Linked DNA regions of Homo sapiens: regions 2, 3, 4, 5, 6 and 7 are each linked to region 1. Evidence: promoter capture Hi-C in 16 types of primary human blood cells and fetal thymus (Javierre and others, 2016). All regions are on one chromosome and are shown on one strand. Each heading gives the region's core, a stretch centred on a gene start or on the middle of the fragment in contact. The rest is flanking DNA. Distances are from core to core; before and after follow the strand shown. Region 1 holds the start of STT3A-AS1 (STT3A antisense RNA 1). Region 2 overlaps PANX3 (pannexin 3). Region 3 holds the start of SIAE (sialic acid acetylesterase). Region 4 overlaps MSANTD2 (Myb/SANT DNA binding domain containing 2). Region 5 overlaps GSEC (G-quadruplex forming sequence containing lncRNA). Region 6 holds the start of ROBO3 (roundabout guidance receptor 3). Region 7 holds the start of DCPS (decapping enzyme, scavenger).

Region 1 (2,737 bases), core at 93-2,592:
ATCTTTTTTCCCACTATTATTGGAATAAAGGAGAAAAACAAAACAACAACAACACTGGACTAGGTGGAAGGCATATAGAATGCTAGCCCCAACACTGAGAAGTCAAGCATGTTCTCCATAATTAACTGTCCCAGAAGAGCAGTTTAGAAATGTGTTTAAGTATAGTCCCAAAGGGAAAGCTTACTTTGCAACTAAAAATAAAGGCCTAACTACTCCAGGAGGTCAACAATCCAGCCATATCTCTCAGGGTTTGCAGCTGTTTTCTGGAATGCCTGAAATAGGAACAAACTTAACACCACTGCGTTGATACGAGCCACACACCAAAATGAGACTGCTAGGATCTCTACTTGAAAACTTGAGTAAACGAGCTAGTCATTGAGGGCAGGGCCGTAAGGGAGATTTCATCTCGTGCTCTTTGGTCACTTTCGCACACCGCCAAGCAAATAAGAGCAAAGACACCTTTCTTAAAACACTTACCAACCTGCTCTCCTCAACTGTGCCCTGCAAGCTGTGGCATCTCCTGCCACCCTGCCTCTAGTTTCCCAGACTGCAATTTCCCCAGCCCCGTTTTCCTACACACGTTTCCACACCCTCTCACGATCTTTTACTCTCTTCTCCCTTCCGGTCGTTCCAGCGGGTCCCACCTCCCTCTTCTTCCCACCCTCAAAGAACTGACCACCTCTGATACCCCTCAGCGCGGGACACTCATCACCCCAGCATCCTACGCGCCTTCCCCTCCATAACTAGTCCCAGGACCCAGTCTTTCCCACGCTCTGTTCTCAAGACCCACCTTACCCTCCCTCCCTAGACCTTCGCATCCTTCCATCCAGGAAGCCCCCACACCACGCCCCACGCCCCCTCCTCTGCAAGGCCCTAAGCTCTGCTCTCCACCCCCATTTAGAGTTTTGCCTCCTGCACTTCGTTCAGCCCCATCAACGCCATGGACTGCACCTGCCGCTGATTTTCAAGTTACGTTCTACGGCCTTCTCACCTGGCCGGCTTTCCTAAACGATCCGCGGGGCTCCCTCAGCCATCCGTTCAGCGGCGCACCCAACCCTGGCAGGAGCCGGGTCCGCCTCCCGGACCGCTCCCCCGTTGGCTGGCTCCAGGCCAATAGGACGCTTCTGGAGAGCGATAGGGTCTCGGAACTGTCTGTCAAATCCGGAGGCGTAAACCGGGCCGCGATTCAAGTTTTTAATTGGTCATTACAGCTATCACTTAGCAGTCTAGAGGCAGGTCTGTATGCTCCCGCCGAGCTGTCATAGGCCGGCGCGTAGGAGTCAAGAGCGCGGAAAGAACGTGCCCCAAGCAGTTTGGTTGAGGGCCGAGGAGTGACGTGTCGGTTTGCGGACCCACGGGGAGTCGCAGTGGGAAGGCGCGGCCCACTGACTCCCGTCATGTGACAAGAAGCGGAAACTACGCTGAAATAGGCCCTTGCTCCAAGTCCCAGTAACTCGGAATGCGGAGCCGCTCGTCTCCCGTCTTTTTTAAGGTAGAAATTGTTACCTAATACAAGGTGAAAGGAGAGGAGGGAAGCATTTTCTACCTATTTATTCTCAATTAAAACTCAAACGCGGACTGGTCCAGACAGTTCGTCTTTTGCAGGATGTGCCTGATAGTTGACTCGAGCTTTTACTGTGCCTTGGTAACTGCGATGGACCTGGGAACCTTGACAGAGTTCACAGCCCCTGGTTTTGTGAAAGAGCGTGCCTAGGCCTAAAGGGGTTGTCGGGGCTAAGCTGGAAGCATTTCTACTGCCAGCTGAGACAGCCACCGCCGCGGAGGCACAGCCCTCCCCAGCAGCAAGCGGGCTTCCTCGGGAGACCGGGAGGCAGCCCGGCCATGCTTAGTCAGTTCAGCCCTTTGTTAAAATACCGGCCAGAGAGCCGCTCTCCCTATCCTAACTTGCCTCTCTTCTCTCGCACCCCACGCGCTCCCCGACCCCCAATAAGTTTGCTGAGGGCAGAGAAGGGGACGAAGTTTGAGCAGCAATTCCATCATCTCAGACTCGCACGTGTACACCTTTATCCTCAGGCACTTCCACTCCCTGCGCGCCTCGGTGAGCCAAGGCTACACCAGAGAGAGTGGGAACGTCTCGCAGCTCTTCGAACTTGTTGCCTCTACCACTCACGCAGTTTCCTATTCTCCCATGAACGGAACCCACCACTTATTGAAAGGTCATTATTTAAATCACTGCTTCAGAATCACATGCATTTTTTTCAAAATCCACATGACCAGGCTCGCCCCAGGACGTTATGATTCAATAGATCTGCTTTTTTTTGGTTTTGTTTTTAGTAGTAAGTGTTCGATGTAATTTTACTTTAACAAAAGGAAACTGAAGCTGAGCCTGAAGGAATTACAGAACTTGGAGTAAATGCTTCTTCAAAATACGAGTTTTGGTCGGGCGCGGTGGCTCACCCCTGTAATCCCAGCACTTTGGGAGGCCAAGGCGGGCGGATCACGAGGTCAGGAGGTAGAGACCATCCTGGCCAACATGGTGAAACCCGTCTCTACTAAAAATAGAAAAATTAGCTGGGCGTGGTGGCGCGTGCCTGTAATCCCAGCTACTCGGGAGGCTGACACAGAATCACTTGAACCAGGGAGTCGGAGGTTGCAGTGAGCCGAGATCGTGCCACTGCACTCCAGCCTGGCGACAGAGCTGGACTCCGTCTCAAAAAGAAGTTTTTTCTCTTTAAAAATAAAAAAGCGGGGAGGGGGGCATTAAAATTAGAAAGAT
Region 2 (2,737 bases), core at 120-2,619, 970 kb after region 1:
GGTGAAATGAGTTCCTGGTTTAGATGGTGAAAAGTGTATCTGGGCACCTGAAGGCTCCACTCACGGCTGAGACATGGCCCCAGCCTTGTTCTACTATGTCCTTACATCCTAAGAGCAGATTACAAATTGAAGCCATCATCTCCCAGCACTTTGGAGGCTACAGAGGACTTGGACAAGGTTGATAACTTCTACAAAGCAAGCTGGGTAAATTCCTAGGATTTCAGGCCACACCAAAGGGTTTCCAGGGGTTTACATCTTTATTAATCTTTTGCCAGATTGCCTCACTTGCTCTCTGGGGTAAGCTGAATGTGCGTTCAAGAAAGGATATGGAATTGCCTCCATAAACGGACTTTAGAATCTTCTTTCCTTGCAGCATGTCTAGACTGTATTTCTTTTTATTTATACTATCCTCATAGAATGTTCTAGACTTAATTTTTTAGCTCTTTGACTCTTCGGCTCCAGCTTTCACATTTATTTCCATGTCTTGGTTATGTCTTCTCACTTTTAGGATAACATGATAAAAGATATATGATTCAGTTAAATCCAAGCTTAGCAGTTTTAAAATGTGTAATTTTTTGGTGTGTATGTGTATTAGTGTGCATGTCTTATGAGGAAGGAGAGAGACTTTCCACAAGCTTTCTTGCTCCATGGTTTCTTAACTATGGGTGTTCATCACATGCCGAGTTGGTGAGGTGTTTGGGTTTTGAGGGTTCTAAGCCAGCCAATAAAGTCATAAAATCAACTACTGTGTCAATATTGTGCTTCTGGGTGGTTGTATCCTTCAACACACATAAGACACTCAGCCAGCTAAAAGAGATGAGCTCAGAGATGTTAGCTCGGAGGAAAAGAAGGATCACATTGAGGTCATTGATGGGACATCCTAGCATCTTTCTGCTGAGGAGATCAAAAGCTGGGAGCATCTCATAGACAGATAAAAGTCGTTTGTCCCACCGACATAGCCGTGTGAGGTTGTATATTATCACTGGAACCAATATGGTGTATATTGCTACACTGGAGAGGCTAACAATCTGGAAAATGGACAGTGATGTCAGCCTGCATGTGATCAGATTGGGGACATGGGTCTCATCACTTAGCAGCCCTGTCTTGATGGAGCAGCTGAATTCTTCCTGGAAGAAGACATCCAGATGGAAATGACCAAGGTATAGGTAAGTGGCGGAGGTGAAGATGAGCAAGAGGGAGTTCCTCAGGAGGTAGGTAGCCACTAGCGAATGTGAACGCTGCTTACATGCCAGGTACCGCTCTAGCAAAGGGAATTCAAAGTATCGTTCTTTCCGAGCCCTGGGCAGTGGAAGGAAGGAGGCAAGGTTAGTAGTGACCATTTAGAACCATACTCTAAGAGAGGCATGTGACAAAGTAACAGATCTGTTTTCAACATGGCATTCTTGGTTCCCATGAAAATCTGTCTTCCCGAGCATAACCATGCTTCTCCCCCAAACTGAGGCATATGAGTATATCTTGATTCTCCAAGTACTTACTGCAATGTGATAAACCCAGTGAATGATCAGTGAGTAATGATTTATTACACTGGATTTCTGCCAAGCAAGGCGGACTAAAGTTCTAAGCTGAAGTAGGATCTTTAGGTAGCAATAGGCTTATGAAATTAGCACTGGATTGGGGGTTTAGCTAAGTGCATTCTGGGCCGGGCATGGTGGCTTATGCTCATAATCCCAGCGGCCGAGGTGGAAGGGTCCCATAAGCCCAGGGGTTTGAGACTACCATGGGAAACACAGTAAGACCTCATCTCTATGAAAAAATACAAAAATTAGCTGGGTGTAGTAGTGTACACCTATGGTTCCAGCTACTTGGGAGGCTGAGGAGGGAGGATTGCTTGTGCCCAGGAGACTGAGGCTGCAATGAGCCAAGATCGTGCCACTGCACTCCAGCCTGGGCAACAGAGTGAGACCCTGTCTCCCCCACCCCCCCACTCCAAAAAAAGTACATTCTGGTTCTTGGCCTGTGTACTCTGTGTATGATCTTTGGGACAATTCATTCATCTTATGTAAATAATTTGGCTCACAAATGTTTGTCGAGAGCTTTGGTGTTCAGGTACATGTAAGCCAGTTTGTGCTCTGAAGAAGCTTAGAGACTGGCTTGTGGGGAAGGGGCAGATAAGACATGCAAATACGGAATAAAAATGACACTTGGTTTGTTGCTAAAATAGTGGACACAAACCACAGTGGCTGTAAAAGTTAGGAGAGGGAGGTAACAGTGTGGCCTTCAATGTTCAGAAACCCTTATGGAAAATATTGGCTGAAATCTGGGCTTCAAAAGATAGAGAGGATTTTTTTTCAGAAGATAGAGTATGTGCATAAATATGGGACAATATAATTCAAATGTTAGCGCAATTGTCTCCTTGGGCCATCTAGCCTGGCCACTCTGTGTGAAGCTACACCACTCTCCATCCCTCCAGCTTCCTCTTGCCCCACTTCCCACTTTACTTTTTCTTTTCTTCATACCACTTATTATCTCAGAACGTAGATTTCATTTCTGTGTTCTGTTTATTTGTCTGTGTTTCCTTAATAGAATGTAAGCCCCACATGGGTAGGTACAGCTTTGTCTCTCCTACCCCCATCCCCCAACACATACAAGTGAATGTATCAGAAGCACCCAGGACAATGCCTGTATGCAGGTGGAGGAATGATTACATAGATAAATAATTTGTTCAGGGGAAAAGGAGGAGGCTGCCTAAGTGTGGTGGAAGGTTTCTGTCACCTGG
Region 3 (2,737 bases), core at 86-2,585, 920 kb after region 1:
TCCATTGTGAATTAGTATAATACAAACACAGACCCATTCACTAGGCCAAATCATTTAAAATCCTGCAAAAAACCCATAATTTTCAATATGACTTTTTCTCTCTTTACCCTTTATATGCTCAAAAGGTAAGGGTAATTTTTGCTATCACACAGGAATTTAGAGAGAATGATTGCTAAAAAGTTAAATTCATTGTCAATTGCTGAGAAGACCTTCTTTGAGGTCTATTTTTTTTTAAAGAGTAGAAATTAGTCCTGGTTCTAGAAATTAATTTGTTGAATGAAGAAGTTGCACAATCTTTCCCCTTGCTGCCACTTCTGAAGCATGACCCACAATGCTTCGAACACCTTCGTACTGTGGAATGGGGTTGTGCGTGCGTGTGTGTGAGGGAGGGATGGGATGGGATGGGGCTGTGTGTCATGATTTTGAAATCCCAGCCTCTAAAGTTTTAGAATTCTTATATTTTTCGGTTTCTTCTTGATCAGGTTGTCTCTTTCTGTCTTGAAATACAAGGGCTAGATTAAGGGTAGCTGCTAAGCAGCGGGCTGAGCTACTACTGAGTATGAAAAGAATCCTCCGGGACCTGGCCTGTTAATGTGAGAGTGTGCGTCAATGCGGAATAGAGGCGGAGGCCGTGGTAGGGGTCCAGGTTGGGAGAACTGGACGGTTTAATGAGGCTCAGACTATGGAGGGTTCTCGTTTCATCGCTTTTTTTTTCTTTGAGAGGGGGTCTCTGGCCTCGAACTCCTGGGCTCCAGCGATGATCCCGCCTCAGCCTCCCGAGCAATTGGGATTACAGGCGCGCGCCACCACGCCTGACTCCTCTCTTTTGCTTTTTCTGAGGGAGCAGTAGATGGGGGTATCGAACCATTCTAGAGTGGTGAAAAGAGCTGGCGAGATTCTGAACCAATGTGGGCAGAGGAGGGCGGGCGGAGGGGGCAGACGGGTCTAGTCGGGGGCGGGATGTTGAGGACCTGGGATTTCAGACTCGCGCAGAATGGGCTGCCTCGGCTCCCAAACGGCCCAGGGCTCCGAGGCTGTGTCTGGGATGCTGAGAGAATAAGAGAGACGAAGGGAAAAGGCTAGGTCTTGGTATCGGAGAGGAAGTGGGGAAGCGGCCTCACCTCCTTTCTCTCCGAGCTGGTGCCGCCGGTTCCGGTTGTTTTTCTAGTTGCTGGGTAACCGTTTTTTCTTTAAAAAAAAAAAAAAACTACGGCGGCCGAGAAGGGGCGAGTACAGCCCAGTCCTGAGGTCGCGGGAGGCTGCGAGGACTGCAAAAGGGTGGAGTCGGCCTCGCCCCCGCCCAGGCCCCGCCCCTGCCGGGAACCCACTTTCCCAGTCCTAGGCGGCGGTCAGATCCTTGCAAGCATGGTCGCGCCGGGGCTTGTACTCGGGCTGGTGCTGCCATTAATCCTGTGGGCCGACAGAAGTGCAGGTGAGGCGGCCCGGCTCGGCCGGACCCCTGCCCCTCAGCCTGTGCGGGCTCCGAGACCCCGTGTCCTCTGCGGGACACGGATCCGCGCCCCTTTCTCAAGGTCGACGAAGGAACCTAGCTAGGCTAGGGGCTCGCGTCTCCGACCGAGGCCCGGTCTGCAGGAGTCTGCTGGGTTGAACCCCGGCCTCTCCACTTTCTCCACCCCCCACTTACCATCCCTGACATGCAGCCTGTGAGCAGGGAGAAAGTGCGGCTTGTCTGAGTGGGGAGGCCCAAATGTGCCCAGAAAGAGGCCTTCGGGGTCCTGGAGTAACTGCAGGGGAGCTCGGAGGGAAGGAGGCGAAGCTAGTTAGGTAATATTTGGAAACAGGTGACTGAATCTTCCAAAACATTTCAGCGCTACCCCCTCAGTGGTGCCCTTGGGGAGGGTTTGCTTCAGGCGGGGTTCCTTAGGGGAATTAAATTTTACTCGTTTAAGTGGTTATCAGGGCTAAGAAATACAACCCCCTCACTAGCTCTGACTATTTAAGGCTCAGTTTTGATTTCTGGTACCGCTTACAGATATTGGTGGTGGGAAAATGTGAGTGGCATAGGGGAGGCTGGTGGCTCCCTTTGGCTGTTGCGCAGGTCAGATCTTGCCATTCGAATACCCTAGGCTGGACACTGGGTCACAGTATGGAGAAAGCAGAAGGTGCAATCTGTCTGATAATGCAAACTAAAGTGATAATGTTGGATTTCTTCCTTTCTGTTTCAAAACACTCAAAGAGTGGACCCCAGAGATCCCTGTTAAGAAATGATAGTTGGGGTAGGAGAACAGCGTGCAGAAAAATGACTCCTGCTCTACCTGAGAGCCGGAAAAGTACCTAGATTCAGACAAACTGCAGCCCATAAATGATTGTTCAGAGTCTAACAAAAGTGCAAAATGCTAGCACTCTGTATGCCATTTCCTGACTCTTATCTCCACTCAGTGACCTTTGAGATCCATCTTATGAGGTGGGGAAAAGATATTTTATTAGGTTTTCAGTTAAAGGCTGTTTATTTTAGTGTCAGTATTTTATCTCCTCCTTTGGGTCTTATTGTTACATCACCTTCATTAACATTGATCACATTTTTCATTCATTAGTACTCTACTTGGTTGCGTATCCTGACGTTTTTCCTTTAAGTCATTCTCCCTGTGCCCATGTTTACCATGTAATGCTTGAGATGTACAAAATTATATGTAACAATGACACAATAAAATGAACACCCATGAGAGCAGTACCCAACTTAAGAACTAGAACATTGCCAGTCTATTGAGCCTGCCAT
Region 4 (2,737 bases), core at 146-2,645, 800 kb after region 1:
AATAGGACAAAGCTACTCTTCTCTGAATCTCATTTGTTCTATTCAACGTCATTAAGGTTAAATTTTAATTTTTATTTATTTATATTTAGAGAGAGGATCTCCCTCTCTTGCCCAACCTGAAGAACTCCTGGGCTCAAACAATCCTCCCCAGTAGCTAGGACTGCAGGCATGCCCCACCACACCTGGCTCATTAAATTTTTTTTTTTTTTTTTTTTTTTTTTAAGAGACAGGGTCTTCTACGTTGCTCAGGCTGGTTTTAGCTCCCTGGTCTCAAGCTGTCCTGCCTCAGTCTCCCAAAGCACTAGGATTACAGGCGTGAGCCACCGTGCCCAGCCAAGGTTAAATTTTTGGGAGACTTTTTGTACTGTCTTGGCTAGCGTCTATCCATGACCTCTTCTTGAGTTTAGAAGTGCATTTTAGGCATTTTAAACTGTTTCAGCTTGATTGATTTCTGTCTGTAGAAACTTCCCAATCACGCAGAAAAAGTGTGTTGTCAAAACCTCACTGAATATAAATCTCTCCATAAAATTGTTTCTCAACCAGGGAGTATCTAATTGGGTTGTTTCATTGTCCAGTTATGAGAAGGATAACTTAAAGCAAGAAAAGGAGATTTATTTGAATAATTTTTAGAAGAGGATTGGTTTACCTGTGTCCAGACAGGTAAAACCAAGTTGACCTCAAGCTCTTAGGGTATTTTGGGAATGTGCTGATGAGTATGGGTTCTCTGATCCATAGTAGCTGTTAACAAGGAGGGCAGATAACTGTTTTGTGTTTTAAAGTGCTCTACTCTTTATGTGATTTCAATCAAAGAACCCAGACTTTTTCATTAGTAATGTTGAGTGTTCCTGCCAGAATGATAAGCTCTCTAAGGACAGGTTCTGGTCTCTCTTACTCACTGCTGTACTAGCATATAGTAGACACTACATTTTTTTTAATTTGTTTTATGTTTATTTTTAATGGAGGCAGGGTTTTGCTCTGTTGCCTAAGCTGGAGTGCAGTAACGTGATCATAGCTCACTGCAGCCTTGAACTCCTGGACCTAAGTGATGCTCCCACCTCAGCTTCCTGAGTAGCTAGGACTACAGGCATTTACTACCACGCCCAGCTAATTTTTAAATTTTGTATTTTTGTTTTTTTAGAAGCAGGGTCTCACTGTGTTGCCTAGACTGGTCTCAAACTCCTAGAATCAAGCGATCCGCCTGCCTTGGCCTCCCAAAGTGCTGGGATTATAGGCGAGAGCCACCACATCCGGCCTTATTTAATTAATTCACCAAATAAAGTCTAGAAAGAGAATATTGGAAAATATAAAAATCTGCAGCAGTATTATTCAATAATACTGCTGTTTAACGAAAAAACAGACTTTGGAACCCAGTCTGAAGAATACTGCATTTAAGGAGATTTAGTGTGAATGTAATCTTCAGCACAGAAGCAAATGTGGTCACTGAAATCATATTCCTACACAATTATGAAGTGGATGTTCAAGTAACTCAGATTATGCTTATGAAAATAAAACTGCTATCTTAAAATCTCAGAGAATCTCAAACCTCTGAAAAGAAGTCATTAGATCCCAGTTTCAGAAATGCAGATTTAAAACAAGTAGTTCAAAAATCTCTTTCACTTTGTGTTGATGAGAACTACAAAAAGAAACTTAGTAATACTTTTTGCTTTAGATTTTACAAAATAGAAGCAAAGTAGTAAGATGTGGAAAAGGAAAAGGAGGAACTTCTTACGCAGACTAAAGTACATGTGAACTCAATGTCAGAGGCTCACAGAGAAGGAATATGTGTGAGTCAATTACATTTCTGGGCTAATATATTTGAAATTCCTGTCAAAAATTCAATTATGAGCCGGGTACAGTAGCGCTTCCCTGTTGTCCCAGCTACTTTAGAGGGTGAGGTGGGAGGATCGCTTGAGCTCATGAATTTGAGGCTGCAGTGTGCCATGATCATAGCACCTGTAAATAGCCACTGTACTCCAGCTTGGGCAACATAGTGAGACCTGGTCTCTTAAAAAAAAAGAATTCAACTATGAAAACCCAGTAAATAATTTCTTCTAACTTTAAAAGGAAGAGCTATATAGCAACTTTAATTTTTCCATGCAAACCTTCCTTTAGTCAGATAATTTCTGATTAGCAGCCTTCCTCACATTGTATAAAGGATCAGAAAGCTGAGCCTTATTGCACCCTTTTCTGACCACCTTCCTGAATCACCTTAAAGCATGTCACTTACCTTCTTTGGACTGTGCCTTGGTCCTCTTATCTATACAGTAAAAATACTAAAATTATAAGTATTGAAATTGAATTAATAATTTAACTCTTGGATTTTGAGACTAACATCCTACTTTTTAATACTGTCTAAATGAACATGTTTCTAAGCACACAAGATTTTAATTTACAGTCAGATATGAAAATTTGTTTATTGCTGCAAAGTTTGATTTTGATGTCTGTCATCTTATTGGTATTTGTTCTGTCGTTTGGGTAAAACGGATGTGTTTGACACTGCCTTACTACATAGATTGTTTATCTTGAAGTTTTGTTGCATTTTTGTTTGTTTGCCAGAAGAAAATTTGTCTACTAACAATTCCAGCCCAATTTTGGAGTCAGATACACAAATCTAGGTAGTTTTTTATCTAGTGATTGCATGATTTTTCTCTTTTACTGTAGGCCTTTTCATATCTCCAGTCACCAAATACTTAAGTGCTTACTATGTGGAGGGCTGTCTGCTAGGTGTTAGGATGAA
Region 5 (2,737 bases), core at 54-2,553, 760 kb before region 1:
CAGGGCCAGGGCAGGCACTGCCTGTGAATGGCGCCAGGGTGGGTATGCCCAGCGCAGCCAAGGCGCTCGCTCCCGGGAACAATGAGAATCAAGAAAGGGTGCAGTGCTCTATCCCACGGGGAACGGTGTCCTTCCCTCACTGGGGAAACTGGGGCAGGGTCCTGTTCCGGGAGCCTATGCTTCCCGTGCCCCATGCACGCAAGGCAGCCAGTCAGTCCCCTGGGCCCAGACGTGGGCCCTTCCTCTGCTTCGGTTGGGGCCTGCTGCCCCTAAACTGCTCTCTCTGCACCCCTCACTTGCATACTCTTTATCTTGGCCTCAGAAAGTTTCTCAGTTTCCTTTCCGTTATTGAAGGCGCCAGGCATCCTGTCTCCAGGAAGAAACCCCTGGGCCCCTGACCCTGGTTCTTTGGACCCAGGCATCCCCCCAAATAAACCTGGGAACTGCCCAGGCTGAAGAACAGTTCAGAAGTCACCCTACAGGACAATCCACAGCCCCTTAGGCCAGTCCCTTTCACAGGTCAGCACAGTGTTTCCGGAGCCCCACGTATCAACAGCCCAGTGCCGGGAGCGCCAGGGGCTCCAAGGAAACTATCAGACCCATTCCCTGTCCCCAGGAAGCTTACCATCCAGCGGCACAGAGAAGGCTCACCATGGACTCCATTCAAGAACGAGGCAGGATAGGATGTGAATAAGTGCAAGGTGTGAGTGACTGACAGTAAGTGCAAGGGGGTTCAGAGAAGTGGCAGCTCCAAGCCTGCTTCTGCTGAAGCTGGAGGGCTTATCTGTCAAGAACCCCCAACTCAGGAAGCTCTGCTCCAAGTGAGCTGAGTAAGGAGAGTCTGCCTCCAAGTTGTTCCTCTGCAGGTGACTGTGCTCCATGCTAAATCATTCCTTGCACGGGCAGAAGCTGTTTGGCATTGCACCAGTGTCTGATTTTGTTTGAATATGGTGCCTTTGGCTTAATCAGTCAGACATGCATTCAACAACTATTTATTTATTTATTTATTTATTTATTTATTTATTATTTTGAGACAGAGTCTCGCTCTGTCGCCAGGCTGGAGTGCACTGGCGTGATCTTGGCTCACTGCAACCTCTGCCTCCCGGGTTCAAGTGATTCTCCTGCCTCAGCCTCCCGAGTAGCTGGGACTACAGGCGCGTGCCACCATGCCCAGCTAATTTTTGTATTTTTAGTAGAGACGAGGTTTCACCATGCTGGCCAGGATGGTCTCGATCTCTTGACCTTATGATCCGCCCGCCTCGGCCTCCCAAAGTGTTGGGATTACAGGCGTGAGCCATTCAACAACTATTTATTGCATGCCATCTCCAGGCCTGGAATTAAGCTGGGTATAAAGAACACAATGACTAAGTCCCTGCCTCGGGCAAGTCGAGGAAGAGGGAAGAGCCTCCTTGTTCTACAGATGGGAAGACTGGCCCAAAGGGAGTAAGCAGCTGCCCTTCATAACTAAGTGAATCTGACAGAACTGATCCAAGCGTCAGCCCAGCCTCTAAACTTGGCCATTTGATGAACTAGATCTAAGCACAGTTTGCAGTTCTTGCCGTGAATCACGTAAATGTCACTCTACCAGAAAATGGAACTTAAGAACCAGCATTTGTTCCTGGAGACCTGAGTTCCAACTCTTGTCTCTGCCACTAAATAGCTTTAGTTTTCTTACTGGGGTGGGGGGAGGGGAAAGGAAATAACTGCTTATTCAAAGGGCTATTGTTGGCATTAAATCAGGCAATGGATGCGAATTTGGTCTGAAAGCATAACCTGCTATATATAAGTGTGTGCTGTTACTATGCAGGTGGCGTGCCTTTTCTAACCTATAAGCTGTATTCAGGCCTCTCCCCCAGCTTATCCCAAGCCTGGTTACTAGGTGCCCAGAAGCTAACCGTAATTCTGCTCCCCTCAGGTTAGGCCACAATGTGCTTACTCATGATGATCTTTTCCCTCCAGTTTCTTAACAGCATGGCCACAAGCTTAGCTCACTGCCTAGAAGCCATGTCATCTTTGGGGCAGGAGGGAAGCAATTCTGGTGCCTTTCTCCTCTTCTCTTCTCTCTTTTTCTTTCTTTCTTTTCTTCCTTCCTTCTTTCCTTCCTTCCTTTCTCTCTCTTCTTGTCTTTCCATCTTTCCTTCTCCTCTTCTTTCTTTTTCTTTCTTTCCTTTCTTCCTTCCTTCTTTCCTTCCTTCCTTTCTCTCTCTTTTTCTTGTCTTTCCATCTTTCTTTCTCCTCTTCTTTCTTTTTCTTTCCTTTCTTCCTTCCTTCTTTCCTTCCTTCCTTTCTCTCTCTTTTCTTGTCTTTCCATCTTTCCTTCTCCTCTTCTCTTTTTCTTTCTTTTTCTTCCTTCTTTCCTTCCTTGCTTTCTCTCTCTCTCTTCTTGTCTTTCCATCTTTCCTTCTCTTCTCTTTTTCTTTCTTTCCTTTCTTCCTTCCTTCTTTCCTTCGTTCCTTTCTCTCTCTCTTTTCTTGTCTTTCCATCTTTCCTTCTCCTCTTCTCTTTTCTTTCCTTTCTTCCTTCTTTCCTTCCTTCCTTTCTCTCTCTTTTCTTGTCTTTCCATCTTTCCTTCTCCTCTTCTTTCTTTTTCTTTCTTTTTTTTTCTTCCTTCCTTCTTTCCTTCCTTCCTCTCTCTCTCTCTTTTCTTGTCTTTCCATCTTTCCTTCTCCTCTTCTCTCCTCTCTCCTCTCCATGTGCTTTTTTGGCCCCAGGCCCCCCTTTGGTGCAACTACAACAC
Region 6 (2,737 bases), core at 66-2,565, 730 kb after region 1:
CCCCTCTACCCTTCCCGGTCTCAGGAGATGCTTCGACTGCAGCCTAATGAATAGCTAATGGCCATGCTAATGAGGCTCTGGGGCTCCTCCCTCAGCACCTGATGTGCCCCACACATGAACACACACATATTGCCAGGGTCTCCTTTCTCTCCACCTTCGAGTCCCCAGCACAGTGCTCGTCACTAGACTCGAGTGGGTCGAGGCAGAGGGATGGGGACCGCGTGCACCTGGAGGGAACCACACGCGAAAGCGCCCGGTAAAGCGGGGGTTCCCGATGCGGCAGGCAGGGGGCGCGCTCCGGCCTCTCCGCAGGCTGGCGGCGGCCGGCTCCCGCAGCTTCCCCGCGGCGCTAGGGGAGAGCGCGCTGTCCCAGTCATTTATTAATCACCGTAATTAGCGGTAACGACCTCGCCGCCAGCTCCGCCCGCCCGCCACAGCTCTGCCGGGGTGGGCCGGCTGAGAGTCCCGCCGCTGAAAGACAAACTTCTAAGTTTCCTTAAAATGATCGCCGCCCCTATCCCCTCCGTAGCAAACACATCCAGCATTTTGGCTTCCTCTGGTCCTAAGTGAGTTCTTGGGAAACTTCGGGGTTCCGAAGACCAGCTGCCTGGGTGGGTCACCGAGTGACCTGGCTTGGCCGAGGCCGGCGGGAGACTGTGCCCCCTCCTCTGCCCTCCCTGCGCTGGGCCCGGGCCTTTCTTAGCTCGGACTTCCCTGCCCGTTACCAGCAACGGTTCTTCTCACCTGGGGTGGGCGTTGTAGGGGAAGGGAAGGAGGTGTAAAAAGACTCAGTAGCCATCTTCTCCCAAGCCCTCGACCTCCCGCGGGTACCCCCACTCATGTGCTCGAAGCTCCAAATTATCCCTTAGACCCCACGACCCAGGGAGGCGCTGGGAGGCGCCACTCAATCCCGGACCTCGGGACAGGAGCGCTTCTCCTTCCCTTCCACGCCGCCCTCTCACCTCATCCCCATCCCAGGATCCCATATCCCCAAGAGGCAGGGTCTCACCGTTGAGAGAGGGATCGCCGGGAGGCAGCAGGGTGTGGTTGAGCGCCGCCAGCGAGGAGTTGAAGCCCAAGAGCAGCTCGCTGGAGTTGGAGATGTCCCCGGCCAGAGAGTCCGCGAACAAGTTCATCTGCAGCAGCGTTTTCAGCAGGTAGCGCAGCATGGCTCGACCCAGCTGGGATCGGGACTGGGGGCTGGGGGCCCAGCCCCTGGGTCTGAGACCCGTGGGCTGGGAGCCGTAAGCCCCTCCACAGCCTCTGCGCGCTGCGGCAGCCACGGTGCCGCTCTCCTGCCGGTGCGCCTGGGTACGGTCGGTGCCTCTTCGTGCCCTCCTCCTTCCCTCGTCCTTCTCTCCACCCCCTAGTGCCGGAGTCCCCTGGGAGCTGGGCAGGCGGAAAGCAGGTGCCACGCCGATCACGGCGTAATTAAGGGATTAATCCGCCTCCCTCCACCCTCCCACCCTTACCTCTACAGTCACTATCCGAGCAGGAGACACGAGTAGCGTAGCGCGCGAGTTGGAGTCCCCGCCCCGCACCCCAAGCCCAGCGTTCCGTTCTGGACGCGGCGAGAGATTTTCCCTGTCTCAAAGCACCCAAGATGAGGGACGAGGCTCTGTCGGACTCTGCCCTTCTGCCCAACTTTAGAACAGGAATCTGTCCTCTCTTTTCCCGAACCTTTTGGAAACTGAGGCAAAGCGCAAGCAATGCTCCTTGCTGCCAAAGTTCTGGTTTCCATTCCCTCCCAAGTCTAGGGGTTTGGCGACGGAAGGGCAGGAGACTGGGGTGGTTTGCAGCAAGAGTTGGGAGTAGGCAGAGAATTCCAAGACAGGTCCACCTCTCTGCCCTCTGGTCCTTTGGTCTGCAGCCAGGAGGCCAGAGGATGGAGCGGCGCGCCCTGACCCGGGAGTCCTGCTCCAAACGCCCTAATCTAGGAGTTCCTGTAGGAGACTGAAAGCCAGGGAAACCCAGGCAACTGTCATTTATTTGAATCCTTTTACATTACCCTGCTTTGACATTTTTTATTAAATTGTTTTACGTTTTTGAGGAGACTGAAATGGAACCAAGGATTCTAGGACAAAAACAAAGATAATATTATTTTTGTAAAGGCATGTGGGATTGCTGCAAAATTAGTGCAAATCTGTTCAAATCGGATAGCAGTCGTCCTTCCTGGGGGGGGCGAAAAGAAAACCATGGGCCCCTACTCCCACCTCCCACTTCCAGTCGCGGTCTGCTTCTGACTTTTCTGGAGTTCTTTCTACCTGAAGACCCACCTCGACAAACTCACTTTCCTAGACAGGAGATGGCTTTGGGGTATCAGGGAAAGAGAGAGGCCGGGGCATTCCTAACCTGAGGTAAGGCCCTGCTGATTGAAGAGTCAGTGCCAGAGTTCTGGCTCAGCCGTCAGGTTCTGGGATGAGACAACTTTCATGGGGCGACTGCTTCTGACCCCAAAGGGGTCGAGATCAGAGGGGTGGGTGCTATACAGTCGCAGACTCTGGAGTAAGCAGAATCAAGAATTGAAATATTTCAGGCAGAGCTTGTTCAAGGGAACCCGAGACATTGTCAAGGGGTGGGGGGCTTGTTCCAAGCCTCCTTCCTCAGTCCAGGCGCCTGGCTGTGAGCCTCCAACTATGGGTGTTTAGGTGCCTTCCAACCCTAGCAGTTCTGGGCGGGACGTAGAAAGGCTGGAAGCACTAGGTGTGGGGGAGGGGGTAGGTGGGAGTGGGGGTGG
Region 7 (2,737 bases), core at 146-2,645, 710 kb before region 1:
GAGTGAAACTCCATCTCAAAAAAAAAAAAAAAAAAAAAAAAGGCGGGTGCGGTGGCTCACGCCTGTAATCCCAGCACTTTGGGAGGCAGAGGCAGGCGGATCACCTGAGGTCAGGAGTTCGAGACCAGCCTGGCCAACATGGTGAAACCCCCATCTCTACTAAAAATACAAAAATTAGCTGGGCATGGTGGCGGGGGCCTGTAATCCCAGCTATTGGGCAGGCTGAGGCAGGTAGAATAGCTTGAACTCGGGAGGCAGAGGTTGCAGTGAGCCGAGATCACATCACTGCACTCTAGCCTGGGTGACAGAGAGGAGAGACTCCGTCTCAAAAATAAATAAATAAATAAATAAAAATTTAAAAACCAGATACACACAGAGGCATGGAAGCCTAGGCCAAGGTTCCCTGATCCTCCCAAAGGTGAGAGTTCCTGCTAGTAGTTCTAGGGAACCCCCTTATCTGCCCTGGCTAGGCCTCCTCACTAGTTTCTGGGGAACCCCCATATCTGCTCTGGCTAGGCCTCCTCACTAGTTCCTGGAATGGTCTCCATCTCTCCTCAGCCCCTGCCAGATTGCTGAGCACGTTGGTATTGGAGCAAGCTGTGTGTATCTGTCTCGCCAGAAATATTCCGTAGTCCTGAAGATCAGGGATGGTAACTTTCGTCTCCACATCCCCAGTACCTAGTTTAGTGTCTGGCATGCATGAAAGTGCGTGCGTAGAACTGAATTAACAATTATAATATATTGTTCTCCTGTTACGGCTGAAGTCGCGTAAGGCAGAGATCACATCTCCTACAGTCTCATGTCGTTTCCACGGACAGGGATGAGCGAGACATCTAACATTGACTGGGTTCCTAGTCCCTGTATACATAAATGGATGATGAATGGCTTGGGGAATGTAACATGTGATCTTTAATCTGCAATGCACTCTCCCAGTAGATATTTCTAGTGGAGACATTAGAAAAATTAGAGCTAGATGTGTTCATTGCCTTAATTTCAAAGGCAATCTTGCCGCCTTTCACCGCCCCTCTATGCATTCTAGTGGCGCACTCCCGCCTCCCCGGAGTGATAATGATTGGTATTTTCCAGCCGAGATCCGAAAAAAAAAAATCTGCCTCCGAGGCGATGATTGGTTCACTGCTTCCCGCATCCCACCTCAGGGTTGCCTCCTGGTACCTTCCCGTGTAGGAAAATGATTTTGTCCCGCGCAGACTCCCTCAGCACCTTCTGCAGTCTGAAGCCGGAGAACGGTAAGCGGACAGGAGCACAGGTACCATTTCCAACTCCTGCCTCCTTTTCCTCTGTGCTGGCGGCGTGGGCCTCCTCCACGTCCAATTCGCGCTTCCTCTTGCCTAGTTGAGGAGCTGCGTCCGCCATGCTGCCGCGGAGGCGGTGTGCGCCTGCGCCCCCTGCGCTGGCCCCGCCCCTAGCCCGAGTCCAGCGGCCTGGCTGGGCTGCTAACTCCCGGCCTACCCTGCTCTGGCACCCGCTCCTGCGGGATGCGTGCCGCGCATGGCGGAGCCCGCTGACCTGTCCCAGGGCGCGCCTTTCAACCGAGTTACTGCCTTTGGCCCCGTTGTGGTGCCGGCCGGCCCTCAGGGAAGGGAAAAGAAGGCTGAGAGTCCCGAAAGCGGCGGGCTAGAGGTGGCTGCGCAGTGAAGAGGGACCCCCAGGCCCACGCCCCGGGGTGGGAGCCGAAGACGCCCTTGGGCCACGGTAGTGTTGGAGCCCTTGTTTGAATACTGACATTTTAATCATAGTTACACCGACGTTGACCAATTATCGGGGAAGCAACGTTTCTGACGCAAATCCGTGAGCCCATTTGATTCCTTGGTCGATTTTTTATACCGAGTATTTAAGCCATTTCCATTTTTCTCCCATTTTAATTACTTTGCAGAAATTTTCATCGTGGTCAGTTTTTTACTTTGTAGACTCAGTACTTTTCTGCTGACAAAAAAGGTAAACGAATATGGCCAGAAGAACCATCTCCACCACCCACTTATTTCCGGGCTAGAGGCATCCCCCTCCTCTCTATTTTGTTTACCTGTATTTCTGCCCTGCTACCCAGGGATATGATTTGCAGTATGATTCGTCTCCCAGGGTTTCGTTTCTCTTTTTTTTTTTTTTTTTTTTTTTTTTTGCCATATAAAATTATTACTTGTAACTTCTGCTGTTGAGGGTTTCTTTGGTGACCATTGTTTCTGGTTAGCCCGTTTTTCACTGGTGTTATTTAACAGATCTAAATTTTGTGAAGAGTTGGTACTTACGGACAGGCGCGGTGGCTCACGCCTGTAATTCCAGCACTTCGAGAGGTCGAGGTGGACGGATCACGAGGTTAAGATACCGAGACCATCCTGGCCAACATGGTGAAACCCCGTCTCTACTAAAAATACAAAAATTACCCGGGCGTGGTGGCCCGCGCCTGTAGTCCCAGCTACTCGGGAGGCTGAGGCAGGAAAATCGCTTGAACGCGGGCGGAGTATTGTAGTGAGCCGAGATCGCACCACTGCACTCCACCCTGGCGACAGAGCGAGACTACGTCTCAAAGAAAAAAAAAAAGAGTTGGTACTTACATCGCTTCAGTCAGCCACACATTTATTTTGCCAGTGATTTGAGTTTAGGTTTTCAGACAGATCTCATGGGTGTGGGACAGTTTTTGCCATTCTCAACGTTAGCAACAAGATGCAATTTACAGTCAGTTTTTGGTCAATAACAAAGTGTACCATGTGTTAGTTTGATT

What was found. Contacts are between HindIII fragments. The CHiCAGO score rates a contact against its expected background, and 5 or more counts as called.
Region 2: a fragment that was not itself captured here is called in contact with the fragment with the promoter of STT3A-AS1 in region 1 in 2 of 17 cell types (non-activated CD4 T cells and naive CD8 T cells); the score reaches 6.1 in non-activated CD4 T cells.
Region 3: the fragment with the promoter of SIAE here is called in contact with the fragment with the promoter of STT3A-AS1 in region 1 in 6 of 17 cell types (total CD8 T cells, naive CD4 T cells, naive CD8 T cells and 3 more); the score reaches 8.0 in total CD8 T cells.
Region 4: a fragment that was not itself captured here is called in contact with the fragment with the promoter of STT3A-AS1 in region 1 in 1 of 17 cell types (activated CD4 T cells); the score reaches 6.9 in activated CD4 T cells.
Region 5: a fragment that was not itself captured here is called in contact with the fragment with the promoter of STT3A-AS1 in region 1 in 1 of 17 cell types (fetal thymus); the score reaches 5.8 in fetal thymus.
Region 6: a contact is called between the fragment with the promoter of ROBO3 here and the fragment with the promoter of STT3A-AS1 in region 1, in 2 of 17 cell types (naive CD8 T cells and non-activated CD4 T cells). The highest score is 5.8, in naive CD8 T cells.
Region 7: a contact is called between the fragment with the promoter of DCPS here and the fragment with the promoter of STT3A-AS1 in region 1, in 1 of 17 cell types (naive CD8 T cells). The highest score is 6.7, in naive CD8 T cells.

The regions. Positions count from the first base shown.
Region 1 is chr11:125,591,173-125,593,909 of GRCh38, reverse strand. It overlaps STT3A-AS1 (STT3A antisense RNA 1), which reads left to right and starts at 1,342. Exons shown (of 4, transcript NR_132372.1): 1 at 1,342-1,492. It overlaps STT3A (STT3 oligosaccharyltransferase complex catalytic subunit A), which reads right to left and starts at 1,058. Exons shown (of 18, transcript NM_152713.5): 1 at 992-1,058. RefSeq lists enhancers at 1,192-1,786, 1,904-2,073. The HindIII fragment of the contact is 3,144 bases long and covers 182-2,737 here.
Region 2 is chr11:124,617,858-124,620,594 of GRCh38, reverse strand. It overlaps PANX3 (pannexin 3), which reads right to left. Exons shown (of 4, transcript NM_052959.3): 4 at 239-1,299. The coding sequence ends at 660. LOC124902779 (a long non-coding RNA gene) reads left to right here. Exons shown (of 2, transcript XR_007062932.1): 1 at 1-2,737. Among named protein-coding and RNA genes, the nearest start is that of TBRG1, 3.6 kb to the left of the region's middle. The HindIII fragment of the contact is 1,464 bases long and covers 638-2,101 here.
Region 3 is chr11:124,672,337-124,675,073 of GRCh38, reverse strand. SIAE (sialic acid acetylesterase) reads left to right here and starts at 1,335. Exons shown (of 10, transcript NM_170601.5): 1 at 1,335-1,432. The coding sequence starts at 1,366. It overlaps SPA17 (sperm autoantigenic protein 17), which reads right to left and starts at 1,170. Exons shown (of 5, transcript NM_017425.4): 1 at 1,122-1,170. RefSeq lists an enhancer at 1,060-1,239 and silencers at 1,149-1,307, 1,280-1,399. The HindIII fragment of the contact is 8,074 bases long and covers 1-2,737 here.
Region 4 is chr11:124,795,719-124,798,455 of GRCh38, reverse strand. The region is part of intron 1 of MSANTD2 (Myb/SANT DNA binding domain containing 2); the gene reads left to right. Among named protein-coding and RNA genes, the nearest start is that of MSANTD2, 3.3 kb to the left of the region's middle. The HindIII fragment of the contact is 2,862 bases long and covers 1-2,737 here.
Region 5 is chr11:126,352,698-126,355,434 of GRCh38, reverse strand. The region is part of intron 1 of GSEC (G-quadruplex forming sequence containing lncRNA); the gene reads left to right. Among named protein-coding and RNA genes, the nearest start is that of GSEC, 1.5 kb to the left of the region's middle. RefSeq lists enhancers at 1-113, 114-857. The HindIII fragment of the contact is 1,362 bases long and covers 623-1,984 here.
Region 6 is chr11:124,864,010-124,866,746 of GRCh38, reverse strand. ROBO3 (roundabout guidance receptor 3) reads right to left here and starts at 1,315. Exons shown (of 28, transcript NM_022370.4): 1 at 1,010-1,315. The coding sequence starts at 1,169. RefSeq lists an enhancer at 323-999. The HindIII fragment of the contact is 17,224 bases long and covers 1-2,737 here.
Region 7 is chr11:126,302,718-126,305,454 of GRCh38, reverse strand. DCPS (decapping enzyme, scavenger) reads right to left here and starts at 1,395. Exons shown (of 6, transcript NM_014026.6): 1 at 1,174-1,395. The coding sequence starts at 1,374. TIRAP-AS1 (TIRAP antisense RNA 1) reads left to right here and starts at 1,133. Exons shown (of 2, transcript NR_187388.1): 1 at 1,133-1,267. RefSeq lists a silencer at 1,308-1,437. The HindIII fragment of the contact is 18,674 bases long and covers 1-2,737 here.